Regions from separate parts of the Homo sapiens genome. Here region 1 is linked to region 2. The links are contacts of gene promoters, found by promoter capture Hi-C in human tissues and cell types (Jung and others, 2019). All regions are on one chromosome and are shown on one strand. The core of a region is centred on a gene start or on the middle of the fragment in contact, and the rest is flanking DNA. Distances in the headings are between cores, read along the strand shown. Region 1 has its middle 55 kb from the start of XKR3. Region 2 holds the start of XKR3 (XK related 3).

What was found. The method cuts DNA at HindIII sites, captures the fragments that hold promoters and counts their contacts. A contact is called where the count stands out against the background at its distance.
Region 1: a fragment that was not itself captured here is called in contact with the fragment with the promoter of XKR3 in region 2 in 2 of the 25 tissues and cell types used here (dorsolateral prefrontal cortex and mesendoderm cells).

What each region holds. Positions count from the first base shown.
Region 1 is chr22:16,878,685-16,882,660 of GRCh38, forward strand. No RefSeq gene overlaps it. Among named protein-coding and RNA genes, the nearest start is that of XKR3, 55 kb to the left of the region's middle. The HindIII fragment of the contact is 4,101 bases long and covers 601-3,976 here.
Region 2 is chr22:16,823,551-16,827,653 of GRCh38, forward strand. XKR3 (XK related 3) reads right to left here and starts at 1,861. Exons shown (of 4, transcript NM_001386955.1): 1 at 1,741-1,861. It also overlaps the pseudogene HSFY1P1. The HindIII fragment of the contact is 14,808 bases long and covers 1-4,103 here.

The DNA.
Region 1 (3,976 bases), core at 1,401-3,900, 56 kb after region 2:
GAGGTAATAATATGAAGTTAGCTCAGGGATCAGGGCCTCACAGTGCAGTGCTGGTAGCTTTTTTTTTTTTTTTTTTTTTTTTTTTTTTTTGCCCTGCACCTTGAGTAAAAGTTTCCTGAGGCCTCCCCGGAAGCAGAAACCACCATGCTTCCTGTATAGCCTATGGAACCGTGAGCCAACTAAAGGTACTTCTCATGTATTTCTTTATAGCAATGCAAGAACATACTAATACAGCTAAGCAGAGGCCATCAGGACCAGCAACAGTCTGAGCTGGATGAGAGACAAAGCTAAACTTTGAGCAGCAGCAGGAGCTGCCAGGGAGACAGAAAGGAAGGACAGACTCCTAAATTCCAGGATGTCTCCTTTAAGTCTGTAAGAAGCTCAGCCACCGTCTCCTTACCTGACTCCTTTGGGAAAGAGTTTCCCTAGGTTAAGCCATACAGGGATAGGGTAGGAGATGCCATTTGGATCTAGGAGCAGAGGGCAGAGACTCAGCAGGAAGAGTGTCTCTTTGAGAAGGAGACACAGTGGAACAGCTGTGTAGGTTCACAGGGCCAGCTGTGGGTAGAGTTGAGTGTACATTTTTAGAAGCCACAATTCCCAAAAATCTCCTGACTATAACATCAGTGCACGGAGCCAGTCAAATGGAGGAGGAGTGGGTCCAGGCAATTCAGGAAGAAGGAAAGTAACAAATGAGTGGTTGCAGGAGGACACCCTTTCTGTCGAGGTCACTAAACAAAACATTGTCTCCTCCCCTTAACTTCGGAAACAAGCAATGGAGGGTAAAAGTGTTGCCTGGGCCCTGGGGGCAAAGGCAGTAGATAACTTCTCTGTCGTGTTCTCCAGAAGGGCCCATTCCAGCCTCACAGGCCGAGAAGTCTGTTCGGTTCCCAAGTACTAGAGATGCTGCTATAAGGGACTCCCGAATTTCCTTCCTGAACCAGAGGCTGCCCAGCCTTTTCTTCCTGTTTTATTTTTTCCCAGGAAGAAACTTGCCTGTACAATTACAAGGTTCTACGGTTCTAAATTCCATTCTAGTCTTCCACATCATTTTGAAGGTATAATATTATTTGTCAAAGTGGGATGATAGAAGATATGTGTGGACTTAAAATTAAATTGTTGACAAGGAAAAAAACTAAAATAAGAAAATAAGAGAGAAAAAATATATGCATGTACAGTGGTTAGCTAGAAATATGCCTTTTAAATATTTGGCATGTGGTATGTGGGCCTCAATGTGTACTATTGCACTAGCTTCCCAAATATTAAAGGATGTCTTTTAAAAGAAAAACCTCTTGCTAAAAGGTTAACAGTTAAAATAACCAGAGTGGCACAGGTACCAGTCATTAAGTGAAACCTTTCATCTTCCCAGAATAGTACCTGTTCCCAAGCCAGCTTCTTTGAAAATCACTTTTCTCTCCTTTACTATTTAGTTTACAGATTGTATAGTAACAATATAGAAACCACAATAGTAGCAAAAAAAATAAAGAATATTTTTAAATGAAAACTCACATCCTAACTCTAACAAAACATGAAAATTAAACCTGAATGCCTCCCATTCCTGATATATTTTTCACCTAAATATTCAGCTCTGGGATTGCATTGTTTTTGGATTGAGTGGAAATTATTGCCTGGTCTTGAAATCTTCCACAATGTGTGTGTGTGTGCGTGTGTGCATGTGTGCGTGTGTGTGTATGTGTGTATGTGTGGTGAATATATTTCTTTTTGTTCAGAGGAAACATTTTTTCAATATGTATATTTATTTTAGGCAGATTATGCTAGTAATTTTCTACAAATGTGCTTTTTAAAAAATAACCTTTAATTTAAAAAAAATTATTCTTTCTCAGTGGCCCACAATTGTTAAAAATGCTACTAATGGAGCTGGGTATGGTGACACACATCTGTCATCCCAGCTACTTGGGAGACTGAGGCAGGGATATTGCTTAAACTTGGGAATGTGAAACCAGCCTGGGCAACATAGTGAGATCCCAATCTCAAAACTCAATCATTAAAAAATAAAATAAAATAAAACACTACTAATAGCTTTTTAAAAAATAGTTCTTAACCAATTTTCCTAGCACCTTCCTTTCCTCAGTGAAGTATAGAAATATGTGGTCAGGCACTGTGGCTCACACCTATAATCCCAATAATTTGGGAAGCCAAGGCATGAGGATCAGTTCATTCCAGGAGTTCAAGACTAGCCAGGGTGACATAATGAGACTTGGTCTCTAACAAAAATTTTTTTTTCTTTAATTACCAGGGCATGATGGTGCATGCTTGTAGCCCAGCTACTTGGAGGCTGAGGTAGGAGAATCACTTGAGCCCAGGAGGTCAAGGCTGCAGTGAGCCATGGTTGCACCACTGCACTCCATACCTGGGTGACAGAGTGAGACACAGTATCAAAAACAAACAAACAACAACAAAAAGTATTTGTTTTAGAAAAAACATTTGGTGAGGTTTGGGCTTAAAAATATATTATTCTAAAATATTCATAAATATTCTCTAGTAATGATAAGATTAAAGTGACAAAGACAAACTTTTTTCCTGTGCAGGTCCATCTCTCGCCTTCCCGTAATTTGTCTGTCCCATCCAGCTTCCAAAGGAAATTATTTACAAAATACTGTCTGCATCCTGGGTCTATATATCTATCGCCTATGAGGAGAGCGTTTAAGATCTGAGCCATCTTCAAGTCTTATACTTTGTGTATAGCTCTCATGGTTTTGCAGGTGAAGTAAGTTTGTATACCCTTTCTTTTATGAATCTGTGTCTGGTCAGTTCATTTCGGGTAATCTTCAGAGGGTGAAAGGGGAAGCTTTGCACTTCACTCCTACTGTGACAACTAACTACCTTCTTACTTATTCAATGTTTTAGTCTATATCAACACTTTCATATACATTTACTTTTAAACACAATTTTGCATCATTACACTTAATATTTTATTTACCTTTTAAAAAGGAAATTAAAAATAAAATTAAAAATTATAAAATTTTACATAATAAAAATAAAATAAATGATTTATATACAAATTAATCTGACCTGTGAAAAACACTATCCAGAGGCCAGGCACGGTGGCTAACGCTTGTAATCCCAGCACTTTGGGAGGCCGAGGCGGGTGGATCACGAGGTCAGGCGATCTAGGCCACGATGAAACCCCTCTCTACCAAAAATACCAAAAATTAGCCGGGAGTAGTGGCGGGCGCCTGTAGTCCCAGCCACTGGGAGAGGCTGAGGCAGGAGAATGGCGTGAACCCGGGAGGCGGAGATTGCAGTGAGCCGAGATCTTGCCACTGCAATCCAGCCTGGGTGACAGAGCCAGACTCTGTCAAAAAAAAAAAAAAAAAAAAAGAAAGAAAGAAAAAGAAAAACACTATCGAGAGAATAAAAAGACAAATCACAGACTGGGAGTAAAAATTTACAAAACTATATCTGGTGAAGATACATTTGTCATCCAAAACATACAAAGAACTCTCAGGACTCAATAATAGGAAAACAAATAGTCTAACACAAATGTAGAGATCTGAACAGACATTTCACCATAGAATACAGATGGATGATACGTAAGCACATTGAAAGATGTTCAACATCATTCTTCATTAGGGAAATGTAAATTAAAACCACAATGAGATACTGCTACATGCCTATTAGAATAGCTAAAATTTAAAAGACTGACCATACTAAACACTGGTGAGAACACAAAGGAACAGGAATGCTCATACACTGCTGCTGGAAATACAGCCACTTTGTCAGTTTCTTTAAAAGTTAAACTGGCCGGGCGCGGTGGCTCACGCCTGTAATCCCAGCACTTTGGGAGGCCAAGGCGGGTGGATCACGAGGTCGGGAGATCGAGACCATCCTAGCTAACACGGTGAAACCCCGTCTCTACTAAAAATACAAAAAATTAGCCGGGCGTGGTGGCGAGCGCCTGTAGTCCCAGCTGCTCCGGAGGCTGAGGCAGGAGAATGGTGTGAACCCGGGAGGC
Region 2 (4,103 bases), core at 611-3,110:
CCTTACTTTTGATCTGCGTGATGTACAGAACTGGTGATGAACAGGGCAACCTTGTCACTTTAAAATATATCTGATTGCCAATTTGCAGCATCACAAGACTAGTAAACATTTACTGTGAAACATTCAGAAAATACAAATTACCAAAAGAATAGAGTTTACCTATTGCTTAGTTTTCTCCAGCAATGGAGAGATCAATAATAATAAATCTGACACCAATTCAAAATATGAAACTTTAGGGTACTCAAGTACTAAAAGGTTTTTTTTTTTTAATGTAAACAAACTCACAGGTAACAGTGTCCAAAGTAGAACATTAGAAATGAGAGATTCTTGATGTAACAACAGGTCCAGGTGATGATAATTCAAGGCTGCTGAAACAAGTGAATGAAATCTTGAAGGGATCTTAATGATGAGAACTAATTCTTGCTTGTTGGAGTGATGAGACAAATGGTCCAAAAATTAAAAAACAAAACAAAACAACAACAACAACAAAATAATTTGTTGCTTGCAAATAGGCCCTAGAAGCAATATGAAACAGTCTTCAAATGAATAGATGAGAAAAATCGCATCTGACCTAATTAATTCAATGTCACAAAAAGAGAGACAATGTGTTATTTAAAGGGATGAGACAGAAAAAACACTCTTGTAAATAAAGAGAGAAGAGTACAATGAAGTACCCATTTCCACCTACGAGGAACGGGCATGTAAGAAAATACGGGAATCATGTGCAGATGATATAATTACTTATCTAGAGGCACCATAAAAATGTTTTTCCCCAAATAATGTCCATTAGGGATAAAATTTTAAGAAAGAAAGGATGTTACTTTTAAAGACAATTGTTAAATACCTAGTAAATAGAGTAAGTGAGTAAGAAAAGCAGAAAGAAAATAAGTTGCAGCTACCAGATACCCACAAAAAGAAAGAAAAGGGAAAAAGAAGGAATGGAGGGAGAGAGCACAAATGGAAAGAAAAAGGGTGGGAAGGAGGAGGGAGAGTAGAGAGAGAAATTACAGAAGTAGGCGAGGGGTATAAAGGAAAGCATGGAAAGACAACTGCAGAGACATCAGAGTTTCTGGGCCTCAGGATAGGGGAAAAATACATCCAACATTATAAGAAATATATCCCACTCTCTCCCCAGCAATCCATACATCGAATATGATATTAATGCAGATTGCACCTTTCTGGCTGCCCCAACCACTTCCTTCTCCTTTGGACTCACAGAAGGACCTCTATAATTTATTTCTGGAAAACACTTATGAAAATATGCACATATGAAAAGGGCCACAGAGTTTAGAAATGGGTCTTCCAGAGTCTAAAATTCAAGGTAGAAAGTGAAAGTGAAGTCACTGAACAATGGAATTTAGGCATGTGTTTGTGATTAAGTGAACTTGTTTCTTGTACTCACATAGCCAGTGCATCACTGCATCTGAATAACAAAAAATATGGTAGATTTCTGCCCCTTTGAGATTTCACTTAAATACGAAGCACTTTCTCCTTCTGATGTTTAAAAACATGCTGAAATTTGTAATATATTAGTAACAACCACTGTCCCACCCAAATGCTAAGCAGCTGCTTCTCTTCTCTGAAAATCAGAATCAAGAGAGGGAGTTTCTAGGCTCAAGACTCGGGAAAAGCCACCCCTGATATCCAGAGATTTATGTTAAGATCCCCAGCTGAGACAGGCAGAGGTCAAGGTAGGCTGAAGAAGCTGATCTGAGATGGTCGAGGGCTGCTCCTACTTACCTTGCCTATTTGCCACCCTCACAGTTTTGAAACTCGTTCAAAAAGTAAATGCTTTTGTTCACCTCTTTAACAGCACCATTTCTGGTCTCGTTTTCAACACTACGTCCTTTGCTTTGCAGGTAAAATTGCTTATTTTCTTGCCTTTTTATGACTAAAGTAGGCTTGCAGTTTGGAGTCAGGTGACTGCACTAGCTGAGTCATCTTCCCTTGAAAACACCAAGGCATTCTTCCTCCCTACAGAGTCACACATCTTAGTTCCCCAAAACGCTCAGCCACAATTTGACTTCGATTGTCCTACATTTAAGGTGATATTTTTCTGATTCTCCCATTAACTCCCTCTTCTCTTCGCACCCATGGCCCATCTTTTGCTGCTGTCTAGTAGCCATTCATCCCCTCCCATCACAAAAGAAGTCTGTACTTCCTTCAGACAGAGCAACAAGAAAATTCCCCAGAAAGCAAACAATTAAACAAATTTTAATTTTGCCTTTTTTAAATGAAAATTCTGTCAAAATTGATGAACCACATCTGGTAGGAGCACCTGTTTTATTTTCACAAAGAGTTTTCTGATCTGGACATTTTTGTTACTTACTGCTAATATGGAAAATTTTGAACTAAACAAAATACACCCCCAAAACTTAAACTATGTTAAACCAAGACAAGCTTCTAACAATGACACCTCTTTCCAGTATGAGAGAACTGCCTCCTACAGTATAAGAAATATCAAAATCATTATTTTTTTATTCCACACATATTCAACACTTAAAGCCAAGGCATTAGAATTTTAATATACCACCTCTCAAGCATGAACATATAAAAATTCTTACTGTAAATGGGGCATGATTATTTTTCAAAGAGAAGAAATATTTTATTCAATTCTAAGATTAATTCACAAATTTGACTCCTGTTTTATAATGATAACTTTACGTTGCAGGACACAGAGATTATTCCTTAAGAAATATTTTTTAAATAGATATTTGGCTCTTGGAACCAAATAATAAAATTTTCTGCTTAGACATACATACAAATTTACTTTACTTAAAACACTTTCTTGTTATTATTACATTTTTAAATCTCCCACTCTTTGGGATCTCCTTATAAGTAGGTCACTTGCTTTTAAAATCTTACATAATTAACATGTCAGATATTTACAGACATACCAAATGAAAGTATTATTTATTCTATGATATGAATAAAAAATGTTTTGAATAGATACATACATGAATAACTTTTTATTCTGAAATCTAATCAGTTTTATTCATATTTGATTTTATTTTAATTTTTTAAGGTATGTTTCACATAATACAAAATTACATTATTCAAAATTATATTATTAAAACATTTCTATCATCAAACAGGAAACCCCATTATCTACTTAACAGTTCTTTCTATTCCCCAGCCCCTGACAACCATTAACCTACCTTTTGTCTATATGGCCATGTCTTTTTACCATATATGTTTTACACTGCATCAGTTTTCAATCCAACATGCCAAGCTGAGAGAGTTTTTAAAATATTTATTTTTATTTTTTTGCACCGTCCAATTACCAGGCCCTATGCTCCTCGCACCAATCTAGTAAGACTGTGTGTGTCAAGGAGAAAATTATGTTTATTTCAGGGATTGAGGATATTAATTAATTTATTTATTTATTTATTTATTTATTTATTTATTATTTTCTTAAGACAGAGTCTTGCTCTGTTGCCCAGGCTGGAGTGCAGTGGCACAATCTCAGCTCACTGCAGCTTCCGCCTCCTGGGTTCAAACGATTCTTCTGCCTCAGCCTCCCGAGACCTGGGACTACAGGCACATGGACCACACCTGGCTAATTTTTGTATTTTTAGTAGAGACAGGGTGTCACCATGGTGGTCAGGCTGGTCTCGAACTCATGACCTCATGATCCGCCTGTCCCGGCCTCCCAAAGCGCTGGGATTGCAGGCATGAGCCACCATGCCTGGCCCTCCTTATTAATTTAAAAGATTCTGCAGGCATGAAACTTTTGCAGAATAAACTGTGTAAGTAATCATTCTATATTTTATTTTTACCAGATACATTTCTGAGACTGGAAAGTAAACAGTCTTGGCCAAATTTTTATGTTTGTTGCTAGGTGACCAAAGTCCTCTTGTGATGCCATTGCTACTCAGGTTGGAAACCACTGTGGTGATCTCAATTACTTTACCTGAGTAGACTACTGAAGCAGCATTTGAAGCTGCAGTCTTGAAACACATGCAGGCTGGAAAAGTCGCTAAAGAATTACTTATTTGAGATGGCACATGTTTCTGCAGAAACTCAAGATGTTTCTCCTAAAGATGAATCAACTGGTTCAAAAGCCTCCTCTGGGTCTCCATTGTGTGAACACATAATCCCTG